4 separate regions of the Homo sapiens genome follow, and all the other regions are linked to region 2. Evidence: promoter capture Hi-C in 16 types of primary human blood cells and fetal thymus (Javierre and others, 2016). All regions are on one chromosome and are shown on one strand. The core of a region is centred on a gene start or on the middle of the fragment in contact, and the rest is flanking DNA. Distances in the headings are between cores, read along the strand shown. Region 1 has its middle 220 kb from the start of PPP1R3A. Region 2 holds the start of GPR85 (G protein-coupled receptor 85). Region 3 has its middle 35 kb from the start of LSMEM1. Region 4 has its middle 46 kb from the start of LINC03076.

The links. Contacts are between HindIII fragments. The CHiCAGO score rates a contact against its expected background, and 5 or more counts as called.
Region 1: a contact is called between a fragment that was not itself captured here and the fragment with the promoter of GPR85 in region 2, in 1 of 17 cell types (endothelial precursors). The highest score is 5.9, in endothelial precursors.
Region 3: a fragment that was not itself captured here is called in contact with the fragment with the promoter of GPR85 in region 2 in 1 of 17 cell types (M1 macrophages); the score reaches 5.6 in M1 macrophages.
Region 4: a contact is called between a fragment that was not itself captured here and the fragment with the promoter of GPR85 in region 2, in 1 of 17 cell types (neutrophils). The highest score is 5.6, in neutrophils.

The regions. Positions count from the first base shown.
Region 1 is chr7:113,700,383-113,704,532 of GRCh38, reverse strand. No RefSeq gene overlaps it. Among named protein-coding and RNA genes, the nearest start is that of PPP1R3A, 220 kb to the left of the region's middle. The HindIII fragment of the contact is 740 bases long and covers 1,438-2,177 here.
Region 2 is chr7:113,085,466-113,089,710 of GRCh38, reverse strand. It overlaps GPR85 (G protein-coupled receptor 85), which reads left to right and starts at 2,884. Exons shown (of 3, transcript NM_001146267.2): 1 at 2,884-3,389; 2 at 3,602-3,719. RefSeq lists a silencer at 3,139-3,198. The HindIII fragment of the contact is 6,967 bases long and covers 1-3,006 here.
Region 3 is chr7:112,513,273-112,517,827 of GRCh38, reverse strand. No RefSeq gene overlaps it. Among named protein-coding and RNA genes, the nearest start is that of LSMEM1, 35 kb to the right of the region's middle. The HindIII fragment of the contact is 214 bases long and covers 2,421-2,634 here.
Region 4 is chr7:112,569,632-112,573,955 of GRCh38, reverse strand. No RefSeq gene overlaps it. Among named protein-coding and RNA genes, the nearest start is that of LINC03076, 46 kb to the left of the region's middle. The HindIII fragment of the contact is 3,313 bases long and covers 622-3,934 here.

The DNA of each region.
Region 1 (4,150 bases), core at 558-3,057, 620 kb before region 2:
ATCATGCTGCTATAAAGACATGCACAAGTATGTTTATTGCAGCACTATTCACAATAGCAAAGGCTTGGAACCAACCCAAATGTCCATCAATGATAGACTGGATTAAGAAAATGTGGCACATATACACCATGGAATACTATGCAGCCATAAAAAAGGATGATTTCATGTCCTTTGTAGGGACATGGATGAAGCTGGAAACCATCATTCTGAGCAAACTATTGCAAGGACAGAAAACCAAACACCGCATGTTCTCACTCATAGGTGGAAACTGAACAATGACAACACTTGGACACAGGGCAGGGACCATCACACACCGGGACCTTTTGTGGGTTTGGGGGATGAGGGATGGGTGAGGGATAGCATTAGGAGAAATACCTAATGTAAATGACAAGTTAATGGGTGCAGCAAACCAACACGGCACATGCATACATATGTAACAAACCTGCACGTTGTGCACATGTACCCTAGAACTTAAGGTATAATAAAAATAAAAATAAAATAAAGTAATAAAAATAAAAACAAAAAAATTGATAAAATCTTTATGTGATATCATAACCCTTAAAATATTTTATATGTAATTGACAGTGCTCTTTAGTAACTATGAAAAAGCCCTTAATTGCTATATAATCTAATAAAGTGATTATGTCGATGGTTAAAAAAAAAAGAATTAACCATCACAGTAGGAATATATTGCATTGTGTTTATTGAATCATCAGTTGATGAACATTTTGGTTGTTCCTGCCTTTTTTTCCTATTGTGAATAAAGCTGCTATGAACATGGCACAAATATCTGCTTCTTGAGTCTCTGCTTTCAATTATTTTGAAGGTGAACTCAAAAGTAGATTTACTGGATCACGTGTTAATTCTATATTTAATTTTTTGAGAAACCTCCATACTGTTTTCCACAGAAGCTACACCATTTTAAATCCCAACCAACAGTGCATAAGAGTTTCAATTTCTGCACATCCTTGTCAATACTTGATATTTTCTGGTTTTGGTGTTTTTTTTGTTGTTGTTGTTGTTTGTTTGTTTTTAATCACCATTCTAGTGGGTGTGAAGTGTTATCTCATTGTGGTTCTGATTTTCATTTCCCTAATGATTAGTGATATTTGGCATCTTTCCTGGGCTTACTGGTCATTTGTTTATCTTTTTGGAGAAATGTCTATTCAAGTTCTTTGGCCATTTTAAAATCAGGTTGTTTTCTTCATTTTGAGTTGTAGTAGTTCTTTATATATTCTGAATATTAATTTTTTATCAGAGGTAAGATTTGCAAATATCTTTTCCTATTCTGTGGGTTGCATTTTTGCTCATTGAAAATGCCCTTTGATTCACAATAGTTTTTAATTTTGACAAGTCCAAATAATATAGTTTTTCCTTTGTTACCTATGCTTTTGATATCATATTCAAGAAATCTGCTAAATCCAATGTTATGAAGCTTCCTCCTATGTTTTTTTCTAAGCGTTTGGTAGCCTTTACTCTTAACATTTAGGTCTTTGATTCATTTTGAGTAATTTTTGTATGTGGTATAAGGTAAAGACCCAACTTTATTCTTTTACATGTAGATATTTAGTTTTCCCAGTGCCGTTTGTTGAAGAGACCATCCATTGCCTGGCTTGGTTTCTAGGAATTAAAAAATCAGGAATAAAAATAACCTGAGGTTTATTAGATTAAGTCAATTTCAACCGATAAAAGATTTAACTTCTCAATTATATAAAAAACGTAATTGCTTTCCTAAGTTAAAAACAATCATATAGATACAATTTAAATTAGCACCAGTTTTAAAATGAGCATTATACTTAAACTTCTGTCTTGTTCTAAAACAGCTATGGATAATATTCTGTATATGCTTTTCCAAGTTGTTGTTGTCAATTTCATATTTATATGAATAATCCTCATTTTTTTATTAGTTTTCAGAGGTTCATATTTTTAAACTTTTTTTTCCTGTTTATTCTTTTAACCTTTCAAGGTCAATTAGAACAGTTTTCTGGTTTAAACTGGTATACACTGAAACTCCTACCTTTAGATAATCTACAAAAATGCATTAGTGGGTTATACTCCCTATTCAGGGCTATTAACAAAGATGCTAAAGATCATTAGCTTAAGGGATAGATAATTCCTACTAGTAATGGATGTACAACTGCTCTCTATGCTGATAATATCTAGTTCTATCAGAAGCTTTTAAAAGACATAGATCAAAAGTCAAGGTTGCCCCAAATGTAAAGATTGGAGAGATGTGGATTGCTTAAGATTAATTAAATAAATTCACTCCTTAAATATTTATATATCAATCCCATTTAGGATGTGGAGCTTCAGTTAGACTTATTACCAGATTTTACCCCTCAAAGACTCTTACATGACAGTATTTGCTCTCCTGACTTTTTCTCAAAGGACAAAATAATTTGCCTTATTGTTAACAGTGGAGTTCCATTTTGGTTAAGAAAATACATTGTATCACTTGTGATCTGCCTTTTGCTATGCTTATTGATGGCAGTGTATTTGAAATTAGTGAAAAAAATGGAGACCTGAAATCGTGTACCTCATTTCAGCTGCTTAGATTTTGAAAAACACATTCAATAAGCTCCTACACAGGACTCCTCAAAGTTCATTTCAGTACAATCCACTTGCGTTTATGTTTCATAATAACCATGCTTTATGACAGTTAATAAAGGTTAAGTATATTTAGCCAAGAAAGTAAAGGGTTAGATGTGTGAATCTAACTCTGCAATTGAATAATGAGATCAGCAGTCAGAATTGGGGCAAAGTTTATTCATTCTAGTTAAAACAATTTTTGTAATACAGAGAGCAACTTAAAATTATACCAGTGCAATGATAGGTGAAACTTGCATCTCAAAGTCTTCAAGGGTGAGGATGGAAATGTATTTTGGGGGTGGTAGTGATCATATTTGCAACATTTCTATTATAGTGAAGAACTCAGCAAATGAGAAGCCATACATGCACTGTTTAGAAGTCAGCAATTCTATGTGATAAGCAAGGGGTTTGGCAACCTCAAAATTTTCTTTTAAATGTTATTTTAAAAATTAAACACAGAAAGCCAAAATCTTACTGTAAAATTCTAAGAAAAGTGAAAACTCATGCACATAAGATTCTGAAATATGTTGTAACCCCTCTGGGATCACTAAACAATATTAAATAAATCAGATATGTAGCTAGATTAATTCAGGTTATAGTGATTAACAGATAAAGTACATGAATATTAGGTTATAAAATTATTGGCATAAACTTATTAAAATATTTCAATAAAGTGGGATAAAAGCAAATTTGCAATTAGTGGTAATGAGTTCACAATTAGCTTTATTATGAGGATGCTAAAATGCACTAGAAAGGCAATGTAATGCAATGAAATACTGATACAGGGACTCCCTGACTTACTGAATGAATTTAAATGAAATCTGATAGGCAGAGTGAGCACTTACTGTAAAAGGTGTATATCCATAAGAAAAGAGGCAAATATACTCTGATGGTTTGCTAAATAAATAATAATTTAATCATAGGTAAAAATGAAACCCTAAATATGTGATGTAATCTTGCATCTGATTCTGGCTTACATAAGCCAATTTCCATTGGAATTTGAAATTCTCACACATTTTAGGTGGATATTGACAATCCAAGTGGAGAAAGGGACAATGAATAGAGATTTTAAGTCATACATATCAAAGCAGAGTGTTTTCTATTTTAGATAATCAAAGTAAACAGCACCATAATTTGCACAAATCTGACATTCAATAAACTAATAGTTATTAAATGAACGAATCCATTTATTCATTTAATAAATATTAAAAAGCAATACTTTAACACAATTCTGTAGATTTTAGGTTGTCAGTTTAGAAATTAACATGTATTTTTAATATCTGACTAACCCAGTAATAAAAGTACAATTATAAAAAAGTGAACTTCCCTCTTTTATTTTCTTGCCTCACTCCCTGATTTCTCTTAAATCTTACCTCCTGCATGCAATATCATTTGGAAAGTGATTCTCATGTTTTGATTTGTTTATATTACTTGGCTATTTGGACTGTGCCTATATTATAGCTGAAAAGCAAATTGAAAGTGATCTGGGCTGGGCTCAGTGGCTCACGCCTGTAATCCCAGCACTTTGGGAGGCCGAGGCTGGTGGATTGCTTGAGGCCAG
Region 2 (4,245 bases), core at 1,635-4,134:
GAAGAAAACCTAGGCAATACCATTCAGGACATAGGCATGGGCAAGGACTTCATGTCTAAAACACCAAAAGCAATGGCAACAAAAGCCAAAATTGACAAATGGGATCTAGTTAAACTAAAGAGCTTCTGCACAGCAAAAGACACTACCATCAGAGTGAACAGGCAACCTACAAAATGGGAGAAAATTTTCGCAACCTACTCATCTGACAAAGGGCTAATATCCAGAATCTACAATGAGCTCAAACAAATTTACAAGAAAAAAACAAACAACCCCATCAAAAAGATAGTTAAAGTTTTAAAGAAAACTTTAAAAAGGCTCTTTTTCATATACAACTTTAAATTTTGGTAACAGTTGAGAGCACCAAAGACACACGTTTTATGCTTTAAGCAGAAGACATGTCATTTGAAATGAATTACTAAAAATCTTTTATTTAGAATGTTTATTCTAGTCTATTATTCTCTGCAATTACCAAGTGTTATTTCCTGACACACACTTTCATGTAAACAATGCACAGAAAAAAACACTGTTTTTGCTGATCATGATACTATGCATCAGTTGGCAAAAATCTGAAATAGATTAATTTTGAAAGCAAGGTCATTGGTTTTTAAAATAAAATGGTATGTACTTTTTATAAGAACCAAATTAAGCAAATTATATCAGTTTTCCTAATACACTGATCAATATAGTACATGTAATATTCCAACAGTTTGTAAATCTTCAGAACCCTTCAAACCCAAGGATTAGAGCATATAGTTTTGTTGTATTTGCTTTGTTCTTTTACTCTTAACCTGAAAATCAAATTTTCTGGGTTTGGTGATGTAGGGGATAAAAAAAAAAGAAATTAGTTAAGACCAACTAAGCCTATGATCTAAACAATTTGAAGCAATAACTTTACATTTGAGAACTTGTAGATGATATGAAACTTTTGTCAGCTATTAAACATATTTTTTAAAGCCCTGCTGATGAAAGATGTAGCTTCCAATGTTTTCTCCAGTAGAGTTAATGAGCTAGATAGAAAATATCTCATTAATTTCTTGAGTCCCCTTGTGAGGCAAGAAAATGACATTCTTATCCAACAGCTGGAAAAGCTGAAGAATTAGTGGATGTAACTGTGCTCAACTGCAAAGGAAAAAAATAGCTTTACTATACCCTGAGATGTGGATATGAAAGAATATTGCATACACATATACCCTCTCCCTTATTTTTAAGGAATCAATATCTGCTTAAAGAATAAGACTAGTTAAAACCCTTGGATCTTGGCCCTATAACTTTTGGCAGAGTATATTACTGCTTCATGGCCTGGCAGTGCAGTGACTCTTTTAATTTACTTTAAAATAGCTTTTCCCTAATCTGTACAACCTAACATCTGACCAATCATGAATCTTCAGCAAACTTAAGCCTCTTATTCCATACATTTTTTAAAACTGTAAAAATTCAGGAAATAACTCTTTGCAAAGTACATTGAAGCATTTATTGGGAAGCAAAAAAGCACAAGTTGAAGTGATTTGTAGTTTCATAAAAACGAATTTGACATTTTACTTAGAAGTTGCAAACCACCACATGGTTTTGAGTTTTGAATTCATTTGCTTTGCAAAAAGTGGAATGTTTTATTTGAATGGAAATGCCCTCAAGTTACTTCCAGCATGGCTGTAGGATTGATTTTTCTAGGTTAAGGGAATGCCAAAGTTTAGTGCCTTGTGTATATTCTTTTCGAAAAAAACAAACTATTATCCATGTATTTAAATGGACGTAGGAAATTCAAGAACAAATCAGGGAAATTTAACATCATTTCAGTATTACCAACATAGGGCTTTGTGTAACGACTGTGACATCAAGATAAGGCTTTACCTCGGCTCATCCAATAGAAATACAGTATGTAAATTAACCCATATTATCTGTATGCTGATTGGCCTGAGTTCCCCTGAATGTCACAATCTCACCACCCAGCAATGAGGTATTTTACTGCTGTCTCAAGATCAGATTATTACTGTAGAGAAGATTTTTATTTTTTGTTTCATTAACAGATTATTATAAAGCAAAAAGCATGCAGAAAAAGAAGCAGACGTTTTACATTGGGAATTAATGAAAGCGTGTCTGCTAGTTTTGGGTAGGAGAACTGGGAAGTTGTTGCTTAAAATTTTATATCACCTCCACAAACAAAACTCTTCGGAAATGGTAAAATAAGAAAATGCATGATTCTAGAGGCATTCCTAAGCACCCACGTGTCAGGCTTTGTGGTGTCTGTGGTATCATCCGACCGTTTGGACTGGTGTAAGTTTTACGTATTTGTTATATTTCTAGTATTTTTCATCTGTAATAACAAAGGGGAAAAAAGGAAACTCGTACACATAACTGCTTTGACATCACCCATCATTGGTCAGCGGAACTTGTAAGAAGGGAAAAGGAATACTGTTGCTTGGTGGGGTGGAATGCCAGGAATAGCCATTTAAACATTTTATAAGCCTGATTCTTTAGTGACATCCTTTAAGGTAGACTGAATGTAAATCATATTGTAGTTGTCCTCTGAACTTAGCTTTCTCCCTACTTTTACGCATATTTGCGTGCATTGGAGAATAGAAGATGACTAACAAAGAGAGAGCTGCCCTAACGTGCCTTCCCTTCTTCCCCATTGAAAAGATTTTTAACTGTGGGAAAAAGATAAATAAATAAATAAATAACTTTTTTTCTTTTTTCCCATTCTTTTCTTGTCTTTTTCCAGCTAACCTGCAAATTTAAAGGTTAGCTGGAGACATCACTTAAAAATAAATATATAAAAGAAGCCTCCGGTGGTTTGGACCACCCTAAAAGAAAAGGGAAGAAAGTGTCTGGGGAAGGTTAGGGTTCCGGGAAGCTGAGGGAGGGGGCGGGCGTCACGGGCACTGTGACTTCCTCGTGCGCTGCCTTTGGGAAGAGGATGGGCCTGAGGTCCTGAAAGGGCCTTTCCAGCCCCCCACTACAAATGCGGGGAGGGAAAAGTTCAGAAGCAGCCACGAAGGGACAAAAGCTTAATGCTGCCAGTTGGATTGGACAGGGCAGTCAATAAACCCAGCCAGCTCTGGAGTCAGGTAGGGGTTCCTGCTGGTTCCACAGAGGCTGAAGCAGCCCCGCCGCCGCCCTCGCCACCGCAGCCGCCGCCGCCGCGGCCCCTGCGTTACTGGGGGAGACGGTGCCGCTGCGACAGGGGAGGACGCGGCTGGAGCTCAAGGAGGCTCCAGCGCGCAGGCGCCGCCGAGCCCTGCCTGGATGCTCAGTCAAGGCACTAAGGCAAAAAAAAAAAAAAAAAAAACAAAAAACAAAAAAAAAAAAAAAAAAAAGAAAAAGAAAAAAAGAAAAAAATCAGCAATTTATAGAAAGAAGCTATAGTCTGTCGGGATATCCAACACCAACAGGTAGGAGGATATACTCTTGGTTAAGTTTGGGGGATGTGGGGGAATGCACAGTGTTGATGAAACTGCAGGTTCACCGAGAAAGAGCCCTCCCTCAGGTTGTGTGTGTGTGTGTGTGTGTGTGTGTCTCTGTGTGTGTGTGTGTGTGTGTGTGTGTATGTGTTTTGTGACAATAAACTGCATAATGGAAGTACATTCAGACAATGCATCTTCAGTAGGGCTTACTGAGAGCTCCATTTCTGGAAAGCCTTACAAGACTGAGGAATATCAGACTGCGAATCACCGGGAACGGTTCCTTTGCAGCACAGAAGCAATCTCTCTCCCCATCTTCGCGTATGTAATGCATGTCTCTCTCCCTCTCCCCCTCCTCCACCCTCCCCCCATTATAAATCCAGGGGTGGCGGATTTCAGGTTTCGTAATGTTGCATGATGCGATCGGTATTTACCCGAGGATGTACCGGTGGGGAAATTAAAATCATCGAACGCAGTTTTGCCTGGGCTTCCACCAGCATATTCCGGGCCAGTGAGAAGTGGCAAAAGAAACACGCTTGGTGGGAATAACAGAGGAAGCCGATTTCCCTGGTGTGGTCCAGGCACCTGCGAGACAATGTGCATTTTGTTTTAAAAAGCAGCCACTTGTGATTTGCAACAAAGGTTATCAGTGTAAATGGGAAAGGCTTAATTGCCCAAGAAATACAGGTTCATGTTATATTCATTTGAATCCAGGCAGCCAAGGTTTACAAATGGAAGTGCATTATTCCTCTGGGTGTGTTTCCCTGTCCAATATTTACATTAACCATTTTAATAATCATGTGGGCTTAAAAGATTTGCCAGAAATGGGGGGTAGGGTGGAGAGGGA
Region 3 (4,555 bases), core at 1,278-3,777, 570 kb after region 2:
CTCCTGTTGCCCTTGAAATCCTCTCCTCTCACCACTTAACAGCCTTGTCCAGCCATCACCCCTTTACCACCACTGCTGCTGCTGGTGGTGTCAATTCTCACTGCCGTTGTCATTCTCACCACATATTCTGGCCACTCAGCATCTTTGAAACCCCCTTTTCTGCTCTTCGGCACTCCCACTTTATGAATCCATGCTTTCTTAAACTAGATGCCTTCCCCTTGCTAGTCTCCCTTGCAGTCTGTGTAGAAGCCTTTGACCTAGGCTCCACCAGTCAGGTGCATCCATGGGAGATTTCAGTTTGGGAGAAAGCAATACAATTAAAAGGCACCACCCAGGCACTATGTGATAGCATGCTGGTGAGGATGGCAGAGGGTGGCCACAGAGATGTTCTGCTTTCAGCGGGAGCAGGGGCAACGGTCTGAAGGTAGTGCCCCATGCTCAATGTCAGCAAGGCAAATCCCTGTCCTGGCTCAGCATGGCAGGAGGACCACCACCGGAACAACCCACTGATGTGACTTGCATCGTATTCCTGGCTATAAAACATCCAAAGCCCCATTCTGTGGCTTCTTGGAAATTCTGTGAGCTGTCTTTTAATATGTTCCTTTTCAGCTCAAATTAGCAAGAGTGGGTTCTGTCGCTTGTAAATGGCATCCATAGCAGAAATTCCTACCCAAGTTGGAACGAGTTCTCTTTATAGCATTTACCCACACACATTGATTATGTGGCTTGTGTCAGACTCTCTGCCAGGGACTGGAGATACAAACATATAGGGGATTTGTTCTCAAGGGGCTTAAAATTCAGGCAAAGAAACAGATCAGGACACCAATAAGGACTTTAAAATACTGTCGGTGGTCGTGACAGAAATACAAATGTGGCATCGTGGAGACCCAAAGGACAGGAAGGAGGAAAGCAAACTGGGGAAGTCTTTAAGGAGAAGATGGCTCTTGAACTCAGTTGTCAAAGATAAACAGGTGTTTGACAGGCAGACAATAGGACAAAGGAAAGGAAAAAGCATGCAGCAGGGGGAGCAGGCTGCTTCAGTCTTCCTTGTTCTGGAAGGAATGGTTGAAGCGTGTGGTCAGATGGGGACAGGAAGAGTCCGGGCAGCAACAACAAGGCCAGAGAAACCATGAAAACAATAGTGTCATTTGAGTGCCTACTGTGTAGGTTGTTCTAACCATTTTACATTGTATTAACTCATTCATGCCTCATTACAACACTAGGAAGTGGATGACTAAATCAGCCTTACATGATAAAACACTAAGGCAGGCTGGGTGTGGTGGCTCACACCTGTAATCCCAGCACTTTGGGAAACTGAGGCGGGTGGATCACCTGAGGTCAGGAGTTTAAGACCAGCCTGGCCAGCATGGTGAAACCCCGTCTCTACTAAAAATACAATAATCAGCCGGGTGTGGTGGCAGGCGCCTGTAGTCCCAGCTACTCTGGAGGCTGAGGCAGGAGAATCGCTTGAACCCAGGAGGCAGAGGTTACAATGAGCCGAGATTGTGCCACTGCACTCCAGCCTGGGCAAAAGAGCGAGACTCTACCTCAAAAAACATAACATAAAAAATAAAACATTAAGGCAGAGAGAAGACTTGCCTGGGATACAAACACCTAGGGGGCAGCAGAAGAAAGGTTTTACCCTGCGATACAGCTCTAGAGTCCATACTTTTAACCACCCATGCTACTACAGCCAGTTGGGAACCAGTGCAGGGCGTCTTTATATTCCATTCTAAGGAGTTTGGACTTGACCTTCTAGCAGTGCTAAAAGGGTTTTGTTTTGTTTTTTAACTTTTAAGTTCAGGAGTACATGTGCAAGTTTGTTATATAAATTGTGTGTCATGGGGTTTTGGTGTGCAGATGATTTCGTCACCCAGGTAATCAGCATAGTACCCAGCAGGTAGTTTTTCGATCCTCACCCTCTTCCCATCCTCCACCCTCAAATAGACCCTGGTATCTGTTGTTTCCTTGTTTATGTCCATGTGTACTCAATGTTTACTTCCCACTTACAAGTAAGAACGTGTGGTATTTGGTTTTCTGTTCCTGTGTTAGTTTGCTAAGGATAATGCTCTCCAGCTCTATCCATGTTGCTGCAAAGAACATGATCTCGCTCTTTTTTGTAGTTTCATGGTATTCCTTGGTGTATATGTACCACCTTTCCTTTATCCAGTCTACTGTTGTAGGGCATTTAGGTTAATTCCTTATCTTTGCTATTATGAATAGTACACTAAAAGCTTTTAAGCAGGTGAGTGGAATGATCAGACTTGTGTTTTAGGAAAAACGCAAGGTATTTACAGAACAAGGCAGCCTGAGTATGGGTAGCTAAGCAGGAAGACCTGACTCTACTTCCCACGATGCACACACACACATACCTCCTCCTGGAGCCTGCCACACAAACCAGGACAACAAAAAGGAAAGCTTTTGGGAAAGGGATTCAAAACCAAGGAAGAAACAGCAACTCTTAGCAGAATATCTCACAACAGACTTGGGGCACAACCATAGTTCCCAACTTAGCAGCTTTGTGACCCTAGGCAAATTATTAGGTTGATGCAAAAGTAATTGCGATTTTTGCCATTGAAAGTAATGGCAAAAACTGCAATTTTGCACCAACCTAATACTTCACTGATTTAAGCTTCATTTTTTTTCTGTGAAAGTGGAGAAACAGAATGAAAATCCCTATTCCCAAACTCTGGGAGGAGGTCAGACGTGTTTTCAGAATTCAGATTTCTGGATGATAGAACAGTAGCATGGTGTATATGCCATGTATTATGTAACACACCCAGTGAGCTCTGATGCACTCCTCTATAATCAAATTCATTAATATTTCTGCAGCAAAACATGAATATTTACAACAGGTGGGATAAATCAAAACTAGAAAAAGTCTCACATAAGTTCTAGTTAGGTTTTGCTGTCAAAAGATTTCAGGTCAGGTTCATTTCACATTCAAATGAATTATGAAAAGCTTGAGGCTTTCAAAGATTTTTGGGTTTCCAAATTGTAAATAAGGGATTGTGCCCCTCTTATTATACTATTGCTTTAGAGCTGTTATAAGAATTAAGTGAGATAATGCATATAAAGCACTTAGGTCCTGCTATCCCTCCCAACTGTCAACGAATGTGACCCAGGATCCCAGCTATAGAGCCCATGTGCCTCAACTCTGCCATTTCAAAAAGAGTTCAACTGGAGCCGTTTTCATCCCCTCTTTTGATCGTGGCTTCTAATCTTTACTGTCTGTGAGCCCTACCACCGATCATAATGCTTCCTCCATCATTTTTCTTGGGAATTCTAGCAAGTTGTCATGCAGTCGGGCCCCTCATGAAGTCCCCAGGTTCCTAAGGTGGGTGCTATAGACCAGCCCACTCCACGTGCCTCGATGCACAGGCCTGTCTCCAGGACCATTCCCGGGAGGTGTGGAGCTATGGCAAATCACTGTGAGGGAACTTCCTTGCATCCATGATATTTTTGAAAGCAAAATGTTGCTAAAACCAGGAAAAGTGATCATTACATTTTACTAAATATGGGAAAGACATACCAGGGGAATCACACAGAATTTCAGCCAGGCAGCGTTCAGCAAGGAAACATTTATTGACTGTGTTTCAGGCATGACGCTGCTAGGCCACCTGCCCCACCCTTAAGGACAGCACAATTTCTATCCCTTCTTCTCCAACCCTCCATTATACTCCTTTATCTCTATCAGAGTTTTGCTGAAATCAGTATCACCATCATCATCATCCTTCCATGAATACAGTACTTTAAAACTTACTTAGGACTCACACACACATCACCTTGTTCCTGCCTTACAGCTGCATGGGTTATGATTAAACCTGTTTCACAGGTGAAAAAACTGGAGCTCTTGGAAGTCTGAAAGTTGCTACCTATGTCTTTATCTTTCTCTTCTGTGGGACACTGCCTCCTCGGCCAGACTTCCCACAGAAGGCAATTTTCATAAAATGCTGGTTGCTCCAGCAGAGGCCCTGGAGACAAAAACATCAAGCGATCCTGAGTAATGCATATCACACCCACAGACCAAGCCATCAATGCCATTTCGTGTGTTTGACTGGACCAACTCAGGAGGCTTCCCTGGACTGGCCATTAGGCCCAGGGTATAGAATGATCACAGTTCACCTGTCTGCAAAGAGAAGGAGAGCTCCTGAGTGTCGACACTTCCATCTCCATTACGAAGAACAGCACCTCCCACACTCTGACTGAGCATCAGATTTACCCTGAGAGATGTTTTAAACTCCTATTTCCAGGCCAGTCCCCAGAGATGCTGAGATCATCAATCTTAGGTAAAGGCTGGGAAGGTGTTCTTTCTTAGGTGCCCCTAGATGATTCTAGTACAAAGGCAGTCTGGGGAACCACTGACCTAGAAAAATCAAGAGACACGTATTACAGACAAACCACTTTAAACGTACCAAATCCTAATTTCTGGCCACTTAAAATGTTGTGGCCACACCAGGGACAGAAAGGAAATGGCCTGGGAATATTCATGCAAACAGCTGTAATAAATATTCCCTTTGGATAACTTTTGTACAAATGACATAGAGATGTTGTG
Region 4 (4,324 bases), core at 1,029-3,528, 520 kb after region 2:
CTAGGGGATGGAGGGGGCAGATAACAAAACACAGACTCAGAACCCATCCCCCACGGAGGGTGCTGACGCAGAAGGCCTGGGATTCAGAAGGTCTGGTTTCAGTAGTTAGGACTAGTAACTTGAAGGGATTCTGATGGGCATCTGATATGAGAAGCTCTAGTAGCAACCAGTTTCCTCACAATTGCCTAGCCAGTTAGGTGCTCTCTCAGTACAACACATTGCTTATTGTACTGCTTATTCAGGAGCTGAACTTGCATTTGTGAATTATTCAGACACTTGCCAGTTTTCTCATCCAGTCACAAATGAGATCATCCTAAGCAGAGCTAACCTTAGGATAAACACTGGTGAATAAAACTTTTCCTGTTGCTATTTCCTTCATTCACTAATGAATTCAACAGTTAACGAGAAGCTATTATGTGCCAGGCACCAGACAAAGTCCTGAGGATTCAATGACAAAGAAGTAAAAATAGCCCCCGCTCTCATGGCATTCAAAACCTAGAGTCATTAATAAGCAAATGTGATACAATATAATAAGTGGCAGGTTGAGAAAAATACTAGGAGGAGGAAGTGTTTCTGGCAGTGGAAACAGCTCGTGCAGAACCTAGAGTTAAGAAAGAAGCTTAGTATGGTGGAGAGGAGTGTATCTGTCTGTGGGTGTGTATGTCTGTGTGTGCAAATGTGCACAAAGGTGTTGGGGAGAATAGTAAAAGATGAAATCAGAGAGGAAAGCAGGGGCCAAATTATGTCCCCTTAAAGGTAATCTCACTGTGGTAAAGTGTGTTGGTAAACTTTCTCAGGGCTGTTATTCAAAGGGCTCTGACCATATCAAGACAAAAATAATAAGGCTGGATACTGTGACAAGGTGTGTTTTAAGGACATCAAGATTTTCTAACAGCTTGATACAGCAGTTCCTGTGTAAATTCAGAAAAATATATGACTCTTTGTTTTCTCTCTTTTCCCATATAACATGAAAGAACGCATTTATCTGATCACTTTCAGGTGAGACTGGTACAGCAGCTAGTGATCCATAAAGATAGCTACTATGTACCTTGGCATGTTGCCAATATTGTCAGGCTTCCAACTCACAATATTTATAGACTTTAGAAGTCATGGTTCAATGTTCACCCAGGGCAACAATCTCTTGTAAGTTTTACATATTCTTTTGTGGGGCAGCATCAGATAGAACCTCAACTTCCTGTTAGGTGGCTTACTCCAAATTTAACAAGCCAAGCTCATCCAGTTCAAGGTGGAGCTTTTCTGGACTGAAGGTCTGAGCTATAGTTCTAGAAATTAATAATTTGGTGTGGGAAAAAGAAATGGAAGAGATCATCCAAGATATACAATAAAAAGAAAGGAAAGTTTGAAAGTGACAGAAGTATTTGATTTGTCAATAAGGAAGTAACAGGTGGCATTCAAGGGAAGGAGTGATGTCAATATCTGGACCAATAAAAGTTAATTAACCCCTGGTGAATTGAGGGATGATATAGATATCAGTCTTAGCCTGGACACTGGATGTATTTCACTTGCTCTTCCAGAACAAATTTATTCTCCACCCTGCTCTTCTCTGCTCTGTGCCTAGGGACTGGTTTGTTGATTAATTGCATCATGAGCAGTGCTGCCCTCTGGCTTACAGCTGAGTTCAGCCAATGGGAGGCACTAGTAGATCCAAGTGAAGAAGAGGAGGCGAGACTAGGGTATCTTTTTCTCTGGCTATTGTTTGGCTCTTTTCTTCTACCAAAGGCCACAACCCCCATCAGATCAATTCTGCTATAGCCTCTCTCTCTCTCTGCCTGTGTGTGTGTGTGTCTTCCATCTCTCATATATGTATATATCAGTTCTACTTCCTTCTCTTGCGGCCTCAGATCTAGGAGGTAATGACTCCCTTCCGTTGCTAGCTTTATCATTCCTTACAAGTTCCTTTTGACCTTGCCTACCCTGCCTACATCTTTGTAAATGGTCCTTTCATTGAACTCTTTCTGTTACTCGGTTTAAGTGGGCCATTTATTTCCTGTCTGGATCCTAACTGATACAGCCTGCCACAGACTGCATGCTTCTTACATTAGCATTGGAGAGTTAGCCTGACTTTCAGAGGTAGTTAAGACAATAACAATTGTTACTAAAAGTTAGATAGAAACTACAGTTCACTAAATGTATTCAGATGTTATCTCACTTCTCATTCTTTATCCATCATGATTAAAATGCAGATCTCGCCTGCTCTAATGGAATAATAATTATAGATGATAAATGTAAATATGGGTATTTACTACCAGATCCAAGTCTAAATCATATTCTTAAGAATTCAAGGGTGGGCATGGTGGCTTATGCCTGTAATGCCAGCACTTGGGAGGCCAAGGCAGATGGATCATCTGAGGTCAGGAGTTCAAGACCAGCATGGCCAACATGGTGAAACCCCATCTCTACTAAAAATACAAAATTAGCCAGGTATGTTGGTGCATGCCTGTAATCCCAGCTACTTGGGAGGCTGAGGCAGGAGAATCACTTGAACACGGGAGGTGGAGGTTGCAGTGAGCTGAGATCACACCACTGCACCCCAACCTGGGCAACGAGAGTGAAACTGTGTCTCAAAAAAAAAAAAAAAAAAAAAAAAGAATTGAGGAACCCAAATTTTGTATAGTCTTAAAGCTGAATGAATTAGAACTTCATTACATGAACTGGCTCTATTTCCTTCATCTGGACTCCAGATTCTTCAATTTCACTGATACTTATTTTTGAAACTTCATTTCTATTAGCAGATTTCTAAAGGCAGGGAAGGTGGGGTTTTGAGTCGGAAATTAATTATCAAGTAGATATTAAGACCATATTTTATAATGATAATTGAATCAATTAAGAGAAGTCTGCCAAACCAATTGTTTAGTGGCATATAGATAAATCAACCACCATAATGACTATTTTCCCTCTTTTTAACAACTCGTTTCTTTTTTATGTAGACATAACACAAATATCCTTATTGTGTAAGCAAAACATATGGAAAAAAATTTTTTAACTTTTGTAATTCTAAAAAAAACCAGCAAAGATAAAATATTTCTATAATAAACTTGATAATGAATTTCATAGGATACTCAATTCCCAAAATAAGTAACTCCATGATGAGTGTACACAAAATAGAGTTGAGAAATATGTGAAAATACAAATACAAAATATCTGAGCAGTTTGTGCCTTTATATGGTAAGGATGTTGTTGAGGGCCCAGAAGAAAGATTTCTGTGTTAAAATTCAGGGAGTTTGGGCCGGGCGCGGTGGCTCACACCTGTAATCCCAGCACTTTGGGAGGCTGAGGCAGGCAGATCATGAGGTCAGGAGATCAAGACCATTCTGGCTAAGACGGTGAAACCCCGTCTCTACTAAAAATACAAAAAAATTAGCTGCGTGTTGTGGCGGACACCTGTAGTCCCAGCTACTCAGGAGACTGAGGCAGGAGAATGGGGTGAACCCAGGAGGTAGAGCTTGCAGTGAGCCGAGATCACGCCACTGCACTCCAGCCTGGGCAACAGAGCGAGAACTCCATCTCAAAAAAAAAAAAAAAAATTCAGAGAGTTTGGTGGTCTTCCCTTTAAGGTAAGAGAAGGTGGAACTGAAAAAGTTAGAATGCAATTTATATTACTTCTGACACAGTGGGTTTCTTCCCTCATACCCAGAGAGCCAAAGGGCTTGAATCAGTGAATATCAAAAAGTGAAATATTCAGTGATTAAATGAGAAAATCCAGGTCTCCTTCTGATATATGTGTATCAAACAAAAAAATTACCCCCAAATAAATCACACACAATAAAGATCCTATCTCCTTTTAGGAGAGAAACTATCATCATTGGAAGATATATTTCAGATGTAAAATAATGAAATATATGACCTGCAGATATAACAGCATCAAAAGAACCTCAATTTCCTATAGAGTAGCTTGCCTCAAATTTAGGAAGCTTTTCCAATTCAACATAAAGCTTTCCTGACCAAATTCATTCAGTTTGAAATAAAGCTTTTCTGAACTAGAATGATACTTTGAACTATAGTTCTAGAAAGAAATAATTTGAAGGTGGGAAAAGGAGATGTAGGAGATCATTCAATATGTATAGTACAATAGAAAGAAGGGAAAGTGTGAGGGTAAAAGAAACATTTGTCAATAAGGAAGTAATTGGTAACATTCAAGGGTGTAGGCTTAGCAGTGGAGGAAGGCGTGTCCCAAACTATCCTAATGAGTGGACAGAAATAAAATGAAGATGGTAATCATAGCCTACAGAATGGAAAAATAAGTGGTTGAAAGAAGGAAAACAGTCATCATGTTTGATCTATATCAGCAGTCCCCAACCTTTTT